Regions from separate parts of the Homo sapiens genome. Here regions 1, 2, 3 and 4 are each linked to region 5. Evidence: promoter capture Hi-C in 16 types of primary human blood cells and fetal thymus (Javierre and others, 2016). All regions are on one chromosome and are shown on one strand. Each heading gives the region's core, a stretch centred on a gene start or on the middle of the fragment in contact. The rest is flanking DNA. Distances are from core to core; before and after follow the strand shown. Region 1 has its middle 14 kb from the start of AKIRIN2. Region 2 overlaps AKIRIN2 (akirin 2). Region 3 overlaps AKIRIN2 (akirin 2). Region 4 overlaps ORC3 (origin recognition complex subunit 3). Region 5 holds the start of SNX14 (sorting nexin 14).

Region 1 (2,700 bases), core at 70-2,569, 2.1 Mb before region 5:
CTACACCCACTCTCAGGAAGTTAGAAATATTTTTCTAGTCCTGGGAAAGCTGCCCTCTCTCAATACTGCTGCTATTTTTTCTCAGTGGCACTTGCTCCATTTTGTTATTACTGCCTCAAAGCACTGGGCATAATTCGCTTAATAGGTTTAGGCTTTTTGGAAACACAAAAGCTAGAAACCATTTCTGCTTTCCACTTGGTAATGTTCCTCTTCTGAAGCAATGAATCACGTGCTCGAATGTGATGCAAGGAATACATGCTTGAATGGAATGGAGTGGGAGAGAAAAAGAAGGGTGGAAATATGGGAGAAAAAAGTTACCATTAATTATTAAAAATATTATTCTATCACATATTCATCTTAAGACTTTTTTACACTTTTTTCTTTTATTTTAAATTATAAAATAATTTTCTTTGACAAATTATAATTTTATATAATGATGGGGTACGCAGTGATGTTATCATATATGTATATAATGTGGAATGACTGAATTAAGCTAATTAACATATCTGTCACCTTAAATACTTATCATTTATTTCTCCTAACTGAAACTTTGTACCCAAGACCCCTTTACATTCTCTCTTTTTTTTTTTTTTTTTTTTTTTGAGACAGAGTTTCGCTCTTGTTGCCCAGGCTGGAGCCCAATGGCATGATCTTGGCTCACTGCAACCTCAGCTTCCCAGGTTCAAGCGATTCTCCTGCCTCAGCCTCCTGAGTAGCTGGGATTACAGGCAGGCACCACCACGCACGGCTAATTTTGTATTTTTAGTAGAGATAGGGTTTCTCCATGTTGGTCGGTCTGGTCTTGAACTCCTGACCTCAGGTGATCCGCCTGCCTCGGCCTCCCAAAATGCTGGGATTACAGGCGTGAACCACCGCACCCAGCCTTTTTTATTTTTTATTTTTTTGAGATGGAGTATCGCTCTGTTGCCCGGTCTGGAGTGCGGTGGTGCGATCTCGGCTCACTGCCACCTCCACCTCCTAGGTTCAAGCAATTCTCCTGCCTCAGCCTCCTGAGTAGCTGGGATTACAGGTGCCTGCCAACACGACTGGCTAATTTTTGTAATTTTAGTAGAGACAGGGTTTCACCATCTTGGCCAGGCTGGTCTTGAACTCCTGACCTCAAATGATCCACCCATCTCGGCCTCCCAAAGTGCTGGGAATACAGGCATGAGACATCGCGCCCAGCCACATTCTTTTTATTTACTTATTTATTTATTTATTTGAGACAGGGTCTTGCCCTGTCACTAATGCTGGAGTGCAGTGATATGATCACAGCTCACTCAGCCTCAACATCCCGGGCTCCAGTGATCCTCCCACCGCATCCTCCCAAGTAGCTGGGACCACAGGCGAGTGCTACCATGCAGAGCTAATTTTTGTACTTTGGGTAGAAATAGGGTTTTGCCATATTGCCCAAGCTGGTCTTAAATTCCTGGGCTCAAGCTATCCTGCTGCCTTGGCCTCCCAAAGCACTAGCATTATAGGGGTGAGTCACCACACCTGGTCCCCTTTATGTTCTTGACAACCCCCAAAAACTTGTTTATGTGGGCTATATTGTATTGATGTTTATTGTTTTAGAAATTAAGATGGATAAATGTTTCAAGTATTTACTAATTCATTTAAAAATAACAATAAACCCATGACATGTTAACAAAAATGACTTTAAAAAAACCTGTGTTTTCCAAAACAAATGAACAAACAAAAAAGATTTACTGAGAAGAATGGCATCATGTATGTTTCTGCAAGTCTTTTTAATGTCCAGCATAAGAGAAGACAGTTGGATTCACATCTGTGGTTCTGTACTCAATGTGTTGTGATATATCACATGTCACATAGCTTCTAGAAAACTCCCCGATACACTGGTGAGCAAACGAGTGAAAGACACAAATGACATCTTAGTATTTGGTGAAAATACCTTTACCCAGAGGACCGCCTGAAAGGACCACACTTTAATAACTGTTTGATAACTGTTCTTTCAAATCATGACATATACGCAGTCTGGAGTGCTAGTCCTGGCAGGAAACATACATAGTCATCATCTTAAGGAGGCAATACATGGTCAAGGGCACTGATTTTGGAAGCAGACACTTCCAGGTTTGAAGCTCAGCTCCTCAACTTCCTACAGAGTGGCCTTGGGAAGGTTACTGAACTTTTCTAAATTCCAGATCTCCTACCTAGAAATAGAGAATAGTACCTACCTTACTGAGTTTTTGAAAGATAATGTAGTATTTTCCAAACTTCCTTAGTCATAACATTTGCCAAGTCCGTGTAAGACCTATACTATTATCCTCTTGGTGTTTTTCTGTTGCTCACTTTTTAAACTTCAATAAATGTTTTAAAAGGAAATTTTATATCACTGTTATAAATGCAACACTACTTGCCCTAAATTGAAGGTGCAATGAAAATTAAAGAACTTGTTGCCTGAGAAAGTGTTAAGCCTAAGGCCTACTCTTTTTTTATAACAAAAGGAAGTAAGTTGATGTTAGAAAGTCATTCAAGACCTGCACCAAAGGGAGACTCTCTGCCAGGTGTAATTAGGAGTCAGAGGCTTAAAGAAGGAACGGCTTTCTCAATATGTGATGCAATTTGATTTCTGCCTAGCCCATGTGCCACTAAACCATCAACTACCTGAAGCCATTTCCTGTATCACCCCACACTTAGGAGACAGTGAGATCATGCATGTAAGCACTAAGCTCAATGCCT
Region 2 (2,790 bases), core at 162-2,661, 2.1 Mb before region 5:
CCTTTATTATGCTAATTGGCATTATGAATTTTTTAGGGACTCCTTAACACACAGCTATCCCAAACCTGTTTTTTAGGACACCTAAGTGTTACTAATTCAGAAATGCTGTTCAGGGTCTAGGGATGGTTGACAAAGTATAGCCATATTTTTGTGTAGCCTGAGAGCTAAGAATGTTCTTTACATTTTTTAAATGGTTGGAAAAGAATCAAAAGAATTATTTTGTGACACGTGAGAATTATGTGAAATTCAAATTTCAGTGTCCATAAATAAAATTTTATTGGAACACAGCTGTGCTCATTCTTTTTTTTTTTTTTTTAAGTATTGTTCATTGCAGGTGACGATGGCAGAGTTTAATAGTTGTCACACACAGTATATTGCCCCGAAAACTCCATATTTGCTCTCTGGTGTTTACAGAAAAAGTTTGCTTACCCTCATGTGGGGTGTCAGCAGTGAGGTTTATAATACCCCTGGGTATGGAAAAGGAAAAGTGATCAGTGGAAGTAAGGGGAGGGGGAGCAGAAGCATTGAATATCGTTGGTGAAATGAATGCCTCTAGTAGCTGCATCAATACTTACCCTGGTAAGTTAGTTGAAAACCAAAGTATGCTTTACTATTGGTTTTTGAAACATCTCATAATACTACCATTTAGCCAAAAGATTGTCATGACATTCCCAAGAAAGAATTTTAATAAAACCAAAATATTGCAACATTATAAGAGACCGTCAATCAAATCCAGCACATTGTTTTCATTATGTAGTGAATGAATGGTCTGAAGATACCCTTCTGTGAATGTTAATGTATTTGTGAGTTTGTTAGGCACATTAATTCACATTGTTTATGGCTTGGTACCATTAATCTGCCTTAGGAATTGAATTCTGTGAAGAGTTAAGTTCCTTTGTAAGAACTCATTGTACTTGCTGGAAACTTGCCATTAAAAATGGAAACTGCAGCTTGTGAATGGGGAAGGGTTTACAGGAACATAGATTGTTCACCAGACATTGATGCATGCCTGCAAACGGAGACACCAGCTGGCTTCAATGAAATATAAATGGTTCTAGGCGAACAAATGAGACGTCTGTTGGAGGAGGCAGCATCTCTCTTCAGATGTCATTTACATTGAGCCAGAAGTATTTTTTAATATTTTGTGGTTATTTAGACAGCTGTTAAGTTGCTCCTAGTTTCTCACTGGATTTGGCAAATAAATGTTTTTAATGGTCTTTGTACTTTGAGTCTTAAACCTGATATTCTATTTAGGACTGTGTATGTAGCTGCAGTTACTGCATATTTCTGTGATTTATGCATTTAAGAATCCTGTAAGTTTATGGCCATTAAAAACTGCAGTTGTATTCATTACTAATATAGAGCTTTTTTTTTTTTTTTTTCTTGAGACAAAGTCTTACTCAGGCTGGAGTGCAGTGGCATGATCTCAACTCATTGCAACCTCCATCTCCTGGGTTCAAGCGATTCTCGAGCCTCAGCCTCTGGAGTAGCTGGGATTACAGGCGTGCGCCACCACACCTGGCTGATTTTGTTTTGTATTTTTAGTAGAGATGGGGTTTCACCATGTTGGCATGGCTGGTCTTGAACTCCTGACTTCAGGTGGTCCAACTGCCTTGGCCTCACACAGTGCTGGGATTATAGGTGTGAGCCTGTGCCGCCGGCTTTTTTTTTGTTCGTTTGTTTTGAGACGGAGTCTCACTCTGTCGCCTAGGCTAGAGTGCAGTGGCGCAATCTCAGCTCACTGCAACCTCCACCTCCTAGTTTCAAGAGATTCTCCTGCCTCAGCCTCCTGAGTAGCCGGGATTACAGGCGCACACCACCACGCCCGGCTAATTTTTGTATTTTTAGAAGAGATGGGGTTTCACCATGTTGGTCAGGTTGGTCTTGAACTCCTCACCTCATGATCCACCTGCCTCAGCCTCCCAAAGTGCTGGGATTACAGGCGTGAGCCACCGCGCCTGGCCTCCCTGGCTTTTTTTTTTTTTTTTTTGGATGGAGTCTCACTCTGTCCCCCAGGCTGGAGTGCAGTGGCACAATCTCGGCTCACTGCAAGCTCTGCCTCCCGGGTTCACGCCATTCTCCTGCCTCAGCCTACCAAGTAGTTGGGACTACAGGTGCCCGCCACCATGCCTGGCTAATATTTTGTATTTTTAGTAGAGATGGGGTTTCACCGTATTAGCCAGGATGGTCTCGATCTTCTGGCCTCATGATCTGCCCGTCTCAGCCTCCCAAAGTGCTGGGATTACAGACGTGAGCCACTGCGCCCAGCTCCCGGCTTTTTTATTAAGGTAGGAAAATAAAGCCTAACTTGAGCACAGCAACACATAGGCTAAACATGGCTAGATTAGAGGTTAGCCCCTCTTTAGGTGTGGAAGGTACTATTCACTATGGTTGCCACGGAGACATAACCTGAGATGTAAAGGAGAATAATATAAATTTCTTCAGTTTTTTAATGGCTTTATTGGAAAAAGAATGTAGTACATACTAATCGGGTCTTTGTTTTGTTTTTGTTTTCTGAGACAGTCTTGCTCTGTCCCAGGCTGGAGTGCAGCAGCACAATCTCGGCTCACTGCAATCTGCCTCCTGGGCTCAAATGATCCCCCTGCCTCAGCCTCTCAAGTACCTGGAGATACAGGCATGTGCCACCATGCCCAGCTAATTTTTGTATTTTTTTGTAGAGATGGGGTTTCACCATGTTGCCCAGGCTGGTTTCAAACTCCTGGGGCTCAAGCAATCTGCCCGCTTCAGCCTCCCAAAGTGCTGGGATTACAGATTTGAGCCACTGTGCCC
Region 3 (2,700 bases), core at 170-2,669, 2.1 Mb before region 5:
GAGTAAAATAGGTGTTTTGGTTCACAGACTCCTTGACCATTATTTTGACTGAAAAACTTTATTTTTGCTAGTCAGTGCTCAGCAAGAATATTGTTGAACAGCTGAATTCCAGTTGGTGTGTATGTGCTAAGTGAATGTCCCCATTTATGCTGAAATGAGTTCCTACCAAAATGTCAGTTTTCTGGATATTATTTGAAAGGAGTATTTTGGGTAGATTGGTCTACTAAATAATGTTGGAAAGCCAACCTCTTTTTTAATGTGAAAGTTTTTATCTTGCCAAATTTTAACTTTTTTATTTTAGAACAAATTCTGTACAACATAAAACAAGAGTATAAACGAATGCAGAAGAGAAGACATTTAGAAACGAGTTTCCAACAGACAGATCCGTGTTGTACTTCTGATGCACAGCCACATGCATTTCTCCTCAGTGGACCAGCTTCACCAGGTAATAACATTTCTTGTCATTTACAAAGTTTATTATTTAGAGTGGGAAAAGTCTAATCCAAGTTGTCTTTAGTCATTTAAGCTACTGTATCTCCTCTGAGTTTTAAAAAAACATTTATACAAGTAATGCATGACATCTTAAAAAATAATATGGTACAAAATAAGGAGTTACCACTGGATTCCCACTAACCAGAGACAACCACCTGCATATAATATCCCCAAAGTGGACATCCTGTAAGTACTATGATTTGTAGCCTTTATTAAAAAAAATTAACAATAGGCCAGGCACGGTGGCTCATGCCTGTAATCCCAGCACTTGGGGAGGCCGAGCGAGGTAGACAGGTCACTTGAGGTCAGGAGTTTGAGACCAGCCTGGCCAACATGGCAAAACTCTGTCTCTACTGAAAATAGAAAAATTAGCTGGGCGTGGTGGCACGCGCCTGTAGTCCCAGCCCCTCGGGAGCCTGAGGCATGAGAATCACTTGAACCCAGGAGGCGGAGGTTGCAGTGAGCTGAGATCATGCCACTGCACTCCAGCTTGGGCGACAGAGTGAGACTTTGTCTCAAAAAAAAAAATAATAACAATACTGTATGCTCCTTTGTTAGGTATAGATGTACCTTGTCATGACTGAACACTTAATGATAGATAATTCAACTTAGAAGTTTTGCTGGTATAGTATTTTAAGAACTATCCCTGTATACATACCCTGCCTCACACACTTGTCTTATTGGGCTAGATTTCTAAAGGTGGATTATTATTATTTTTTGATCCTGTATCTGTTTTTACCTACTTTTTGTTGGGGGGAATGTTTGCAAATAACCTTCCTTTTTTTTAAAAAAAAAAAAAAGGGGGGGGGCGGGGAATAAGGGCTACTTGAAGCAAAGAGAAAGTTGAAGGTTTTGCTGAGAGAGAGCCATCAATAGTGGCTCTTATCTTTAGTAAAGTTCTCAGGAAAATAGCTTTTCTTGTGACAACAGTTGCCTTTGTTCAACGCTTTCTCTCCTCCCCCTAGCAAGGGAAGGAAAACCTGGCAGAATAAAAAAATTTGCGGCTGGGCGCGGTGGCTCATGCCTGTAATCCCAGCACTTTGGGAGGCCAAGGCAGGTTTATCACGAGGTCAGGATATCGAGAACATCCTGGCTAACACAGTGAAACCCCGTCTCTACTAAAATCCAAAAAATTAGCTAGGCATGGTGGCAGGCGCCTGTAGTCTCAGCTACTGAGGTAGGAGAATGGCATGAACCCGGGAGGCAGAGCTTGCAGTGAGCAGAGATCGCGCCATTGCACTCCAACCTGGGTGACAGAATGAGACTCAAAAAAAAAAAAAAAAAAAAAATCAAAGACCATAACATAGTCAAATAAAATTAGATTAGGAAACATGAACTTGTTCAAAACTAAATACTGCCATGCCCATTGTGGGGGCCAGGTATTAGTGGTTGAAACATAGAGGTGAGGGTTGGGCACTAGACTGTATTAGCAGGAAACCAAGATCATTATTTCCTTACTCACTTTACTTAGAAGATCAGTTAACTGGCAGTCTTAAGTAACAAAGCTGGGAATGTGAAAGTAAATTAAGATGGCTTTGGATAATTATGGAATAAAGCTGGTGGGCTTTGTTATTGTGGTATGCACAGTTCTAATAAGCATAGTTAACTAGCTCCTGCCATGCAGGTTATAAGGAGCAAGTTAAGAGAGTAAGTAATATTGGTGGTACCAGGGCAAATTCACAGAGCGAGATGAAGAAACAATTGGTAACGAATGGTGCACTTGAATATGTATAAAATACTTTTAGCAGTATTACAGTAGATGTTATTACTACAAAATATTTTCTCTTTTATTAAAAATATCCTAATAGGTATAAAAATGCTGAAGGAATATTTGAAATTGACAGATGCTGATGTTGCAGCTGCTTTGGGATTCTTAGTGTGATGACAGTGTAGTTCTATGGTATAGAGTTTTGAGCATAGCATTATCAGCTCAATGCTTGAGCTTATTTTTCCATGCGAATTGTTGTTAACTTAATGGGAATTAGTGGTCAATGAGTTCAAAAACCTTTAGAATCATTTATGCTTCTCCAGCAAAGTAGATTTCAGAATGTCTTGTTTTGTTTTGTTTTGTTTTTGAGACAGGGTCTCACTCCGTTGCCCAGGCTGGAGTACAGTGGTGAGATCTTGGCTCACTGCAACCTCCACCTCAGCCTAGCCTGTAGCTAGAACTACAGGCACGTGCCACCACTCCCAGCCAATCTTTGTATT
Region 4 (2,701 bases), core at 143-2,642, 2.0 Mb before region 5:
TAGAATCTTGCTGTGTCTGACATGGGAATAATAACCAAGAAGAAAAAGGTTCAGTAAAAATCTATAACTCATATGAAATATTTATATTTTCTGCTAAGGAAATGACAGAAAAAAACATGGAAGAGGAAATTTTCTACAAAATTGATTTTTCTGTTGGTAGAAAGTTATATTCTGCTTTGCTTTATAGTGAGAACTAGTATTTTTAATGAAAAAAATATAATGAATAGTAGTGCTTGCTACTCTGCCACTGTGAAATTTCAAGCCTGAAATGGATACTAGGTATCATCTGGTCCAATCTCAATTTTTAAAAAGATATCTGACATAAACCAAAAGTAGCATTTTATCTGGAAAGTCTAAAATTGTGGAGCAAATCAGGTATTATGGTAAGTATTAGACGTAGTTTAGTCCCTATATAAAGCAAAATGAAACTTCACTTACGATGATTTCAGCAAAAATGTTGATTGGAAAATGTAACCACAGTATTTTTTTTCCCATACTGTCTGGCTACACAGCACCATAACCTAAGACTATGGTTTTATGACGCAATTACCTAGTGTTAACCTAGGTTATTATTTTTCACCAGACTGTCATGGTAGAATGGAACTTCTTTTTACTTATCTGTTTGTCTAACATACTTTACTTAAAGAACACTGATTCCCTAAGAACTCTAAACATAAAACAAATTAGACTTTAGAAAATACATGATTATTCTTCATTGAACTAAGTTGACAGTGGATACTAGCAGCATGGTTCTATTGGACAAAGCAAACATTGAGGAACATAAGAGATAATATACTAAAGTTATAGTTACTGTCACAGAGATGGAACATGCAACAGAAGCAATTCCTGATGCTCTGTTTTTGTCATTAGAGGACATTCTCCAACAAATAATATGTCCTTGTAAAAACCTAAGCACTTACCTGGAATTAGGCTGCATACTAATAAAAGAACATTTTAAAATTCGAGTAGCATTAGAAAAAATAAATACCTACTTTTAAATTAACACCTAGTGCTGCAGAAACATATCCTTGTTAGATCAAAACAGTACTGTCTAATATTATTCCAAGCCACATCAATCATACGTCAATTTCCTGGGAGAAAATCATCAGTTTATATCTACCTGTGTGACAGTCATATACCAACTGGAAAGTGAATCCATTGAATAATGTGTCTTTCTTTGGGTGACGTGAACACTTTCCTCCTCTTTGGATTTTATATCTACACAGCAGTCCATCAACTGTGAGATCAACTTTTGCAAAAAATGTTTCATATCTGTGGAATATAAAAAGTAAGAAAGCTTATCTCTGCCTCTTCTAAAAATAAAACCAAAGCTCTTGAAACTTCTTGCTGAGTGTATTACTTTTTTTTTTGGTAGAATGTGTTTTTTTATACTTACCATCAATACAGCTAATGTAACATTTAACATATTAACTACTGATGCTCATTAGTACCTTCATTAATTCAGACTAAGACTAAACCAAAGCTTATGTATATTATCTTTATTTTTTTTTTTTGAGATGGAGTCTCGCTCTGTTGCCCAGGCTGGAGTACAGTGGCAGGATCTCGGCTCAATACAACCTCTGCCTCCCGGGTTCAAGCAATTCTCCTGCCTCAAGCCTCCCCAGTAGCTGGGATTACAGGCGCGTGCCACCATACCCAGCTAATTTTTGTATTTTTTAGTAGAGACGGGGTTTTGCCATGTTGGCCAGGCTGGTCTCGAACTCCTCACCTCATGATCTGCCTGCCTCAGCCTCCCAAAGTGCTGGGATTACAAGCATCAAACACTGCTCCCAGCCATTTATGTATATTATCTATAATAAAAAGGTCACAGAAGCAAATGTGTAGATATGCAAACTATAAATTTTAGGAATATGTATTTAAATTACATAGGAAAATAAACAGTTTTCAAGTTCCCTAAGAAAAATCAAGTGTCATATGAATTATTTTACTGATTATAAATCTTTCATATAGCCATTTTTAAAGATGCCTTTAAGGGCTTTTACTTAATTTCAATCAGTTTATGAATATGAAAGCAATATAAGCACATAAATCTCTTTTATCAATCTAATCCAAACAAATTTTACCACATTAGGGCCAGGCATGGTGACTCAAGATGTAATCCCAGCACTTTGGGAAGCCAAGGCAGGAGGATTGTTTGAGCCCAGGAGTTCAAGACCAGTCTGGACAACACAGCAAGACCCAATCTCTACAAACAACAACAACAACAAAACCCCACAATGTAGCTGATGTAGCTGAGCGTAATGGCATGCACCTGTAGTCCTAGGTACTGGGGAAGCTGAAGTGGGAGAACTGCTTGAGGCCAGGAGTTCAAGCTGCACTGAGCTATGATCATGCTACTGTAGTACAGCCTAGGCAACAGAGTGAGACCCTGTCTCAAAAGAAAAAAAAAAAAAGCTTTTTAATATATTAGTGTGAACACTCTTTATGATTTCATGGGTTCACATGCTCAGGATTACCTCTGTCAGTGGACTATTTTTCACCATGGTGGCTTTTCAAAGTGGGACAATAAGATGATTTATGGCTGAAACATGAGCCCATGTGGTCTACTCTCTTTTGAGCTGACAAGAGCTCCTCATTCCCCAATTCTCAGCTTTCTGTCCTAAGTCTTTCTACTTATTAAACGTTTCACTGGGTTAAAGAATGCATCTCACAAAATGCCTGGACTGCTACCGGCAGTTAA
Region 5 (2,700 bases), core at 30-2,529:
TAATTGTATTAAAGTTGATTCTAAATAATTAGAAATGTGCATAGGTTTATCATCAAGGATGGTAATATCAATGGACTTTAGTGGTTAGCAATAATGGAACAGGATGGTACATTCTGATAAAGGATAATAATGCATCATTAAAGATCCATGTTTTTGTAATACGGGAAAATATTCATGAAACTACATACATCATTAAAAAACATTTGTTTCCCCACTTTGAAGGATAAGATCCTAGGAAAGAGAGATGACAGGCACAGGCTCTGTCTTTAGAACGTGTTCAAATTCCGGCTTTGTTAGTTTTATGATCCTAAGTTCCTTTCTGTCTCAGTAATTTGCCTGTATAATGATTGAAACTATAGTACTGTACCTACACCATGGGGTGAATGCATGAAGGTCAAATGAAAGTGCTTAGTGTCTGTACCGCCTAAGTAAATTTTCGCGATAATAGTCTTCCTGCATCTCTCACTGTAGCGGACAATACAGAAAAAAAAATTTAGAAATGTGATGAATTAGTAAAGGGAAAACCCCATGAGACTCTATAAGAGGGATTTTACCTAATCTGCCAACCTGCCTCTTCCAAGCACTCGGATTTTGGTTGGGCTCCCGGAGCCGGCGTGAATTGAGCTCTACCCTTGCCCGTGAGCGCGCAAAAGAGATTTTGTTGGTGGGGTGGCGGCCTGATGAGTTGTAGTCTTTATTCTAGGGCTGTTTTACTCGCCACCCCCCCAGCCCCCAACACACCCCTTTTAAAATACCGACTCAAAGGCGTCCTCCTATCCCCCTCTCCCTTAGGCGTCACGCAAAGCTCGGACCTGCTCCCACCCGGAGCCGAGTGTACGGTGAGGCGCGGAGCGTTGCGGGGTCGGGGAAGCGCTACCACCCGCTCCATCCCTCTGCGGGTTCGTGTCACGAAGACTACAGTTCCCAGCGGGCTCCACGAGCTCCGGTTGCCCCTCAGGCAGCGCCCGGCGGCTACGGGGGTGCTGTAGTTTCTTCCGGGCTCCCTACAACCTTCTTCCCTCTCCTCCGCAATACAGGCAGTTACTGGGTGCTGGGGCTGTCCTTTGATTTCCGGAAATGGCCGGTCGCCAGTGTTGTCAGAGTTTCCACGGAAGACTGCGCGCTACTCCGGCCAGGAGGGCGGAGCGGCGAGACGCTAGAGGCTTTGCGCTGGGTGACGACTTCGGGCACGTTCTACGGCCGTTCCTCTGGTCGGCTGGGGACCGCGGCCGCGCACGCGCGGCGGGGGGCGTGGGGCTGGGCCCAGCCGGACGCGACCTCAGCCTGCGGCGGCTAACTGCCGGTAGGCGTCTGTGTGCGCCGCCAAGTCGGTGGGGCGGGGACGCGAGGTGTGGATGGGGGGTCGCCTTGACCTCTGCCTCAGCCAGTAGCGCAGTCTCGGCCTCGCCGTTACGGAGATGGTGCCCTGGGTGCGGACGATGGGGCAGAAGCTGAAGCAGCGGCTGCGACTGGACGTGGGACGCGAGATCTGCCGCCAGTACCCGCTGTTCTGCTTCCTGCTGCTCTGTCTCAGCGCCGCCTCCCTGCTTCTTAACAGGTAACGCCGCAGCGCGGAGCCTGGGCGGCGGCTTTTCTCCGAAGGTGCAGACGCCCGGCCCGTGCTGCTTAACCGTGCGGAGGCCGCGTAGCTGCGGGACTGGGGACCAGTGGGGAGAGCGAGCTCCGCAGAGGAGCGGCCTCGGGGAGCACGGCGGAGCGTCGAGGCCGGAAGCACAGGCCGGTGGGGTGGGGTTGATTGCCTCCTTTCCCGAGGCTTCGTCTCCTGAGCTACCTTTTTCTCATCCATTTCTCAAAACGAGTTCTTCATCTTCGTTGCTTTTCAAAAGTGAAATCCGTGTGTCGGCTCAAATTGAGACTGTACACAGGCAGTCAAGTCAGCTGACGGAGGAGTGTTCAAGGTCCAGTTCGTAGCCGCAATTTTAGGCAGAATCCGCACACCTGCAGCGCGTTCTTCCATCTCCCCACCTCCCACCCCCTCAGCTTGCAGCTGAAGCTTTTCCCGCAGTATTGTTGAATAAAACAGACGATCATAAAGATTTGTTGGACAGAAATCAGAAAGCAAAGTGGTACCCGTCCCAACATCCTTAGAATTTTTTATTTTTGAGACGGAGTCTCGCTCTGTCACCCAGGCTGGAGTGCAGTGGTGCGGTCTCGGCTCACCGCAAGCTCCTCCTCCCGGGTTCACGCCATTCTCCTGCCTCAGCCTCCCGAGTAGCTGGGGCTACAGGCGCCCGCCACCACGCCACCACGCTACCACGCTAATTTTTTTGTATTTTTTTTTTTTTTTTTTAGTAGAGACGGGGTTTCACCGTTTTAGCCAGGATGGTCTCGATCTCCTGACCTCGTGAGCCGCCTGCCTCGGCCTCCCGAAGTGCTGGGATTACAGGCGTGAGCCACCGCACCCGGCCACATCCCTATAATATTCTTAAGAGGACTTGATGCCACCCTCCCCAAAAAAACCTGAAATATTCCGAAAGGTTAAAATTGATAAATTCAATTGACATTTTGAAATCAGAAGATTCTGCCCCCGAAATAAACTTGTTTTACTTCATTTTACTATTTCAAGAAATTGTTGCGATGCAATAGGTAGTAGAGGAGACTTTTCCATTAAAATTAACACCAGATTTGCTTTTGGTGGAAAGAAATCTGAGATAGTTCTCATTGACAGCATCCGCAAGC

The links. Contacts are between HindIII fragments. The CHiCAGO score rates a contact against its expected background, and 5 or more counts as called.
Region 1: a contact is called between a fragment that was not itself captured here and the fragment with the promoter of SNX14 in region 5, in 1 of 17 cell types (monocytes). The highest score is 5.4, in monocytes.
Region 2: a fragment that was not itself captured here is called in contact with the fragment with the promoter of SNX14 in region 5 in 9 of 17 cell types (non-activated CD4 T cells, naive CD8 T cells, M0 macrophages and 6 more); the score reaches 14.7 in non-activated CD4 T cells.
Region 3: a fragment that was not itself captured here is called in contact with the fragment with the promoter of SNX14 in region 5 in 3 of 17 cell types (total CD4 T cells, activated CD4 T cells and naive CD8 T cells); the score reaches 7.2 in total CD4 T cells.
Region 4: a fragment that was not itself captured here is called in contact with the fragment with the promoter of SNX14 in region 5 in 1 of 17 cell types (total B cells); the score reaches 5.6 in total B cells.

The regions. Positions count from the first base shown.
Region 1 is chr6:87,714,640-87,717,339 of GRCh38, reverse strand. No RefSeq gene overlaps it. Among named protein-coding and RNA genes, the nearest start is that of AKIRIN2, 14 kb to the right of the region's middle. The HindIII fragment of the contact is 6,779 bases long and covers 1-2,700 here.
Region 2 is chr6:87,695,900-87,698,689 of GRCh38, reverse strand. All of the region lies in intron 1 of AKIRIN2 (akirin 2), which reads left to right. Among named protein-coding and RNA genes, the nearest start is that of AKIRIN2, 4.9 kb to the left of the region's middle. RefSeq lists an enhancer at 1-201. The HindIII fragment of the contact is 2,873 bases long and covers 1-2,790 here.
Region 3 is chr6:87,679,365-87,682,064 of GRCh38, reverse strand. AKIRIN2 (akirin 2) reads left to right here. Exons shown (of 5, transcript NM_018064.4): 2 at 302-445. Among named protein-coding and RNA genes, the nearest start is that of AKIRIN2, 22 kb to the left of the region's middle. The HindIII fragment of the contact is 6,659 bases long and covers 1-2,700 here.
Region 4 is chr6:87,606,244-87,608,944 of GRCh38, reverse strand. It overlaps ORC3 (origin recognition complex subunit 3), which reads right to left. Exons shown (of 20, transcript NM_012381.4): 6 at 1,121-1,272. Among named protein-coding and RNA genes, the nearest start is that of ORC3, 17 kb to the right of the region's middle. The HindIII fragment of the contact is 186 bases long and covers 1,300-1,485 here.
Region 5 is chr6:85,592,437-85,595,136 of GRCh38, reverse strand. SNX14 (sorting nexin 14) reads left to right here and starts at 1,279. Exons shown (of 29, transcript NM_153816.6): 1 at 1,279-1,558. The coding sequence starts at 1,419. RefSeq lists enhancers at 987-1,106, 1,417-1,586, 1,035-1,618, 1,619-2,202, 2,203-2,700 and a silencer at 1,137-1,356. The HindIII fragment of the contact is 2,215 bases long and covers 1-2,016 here.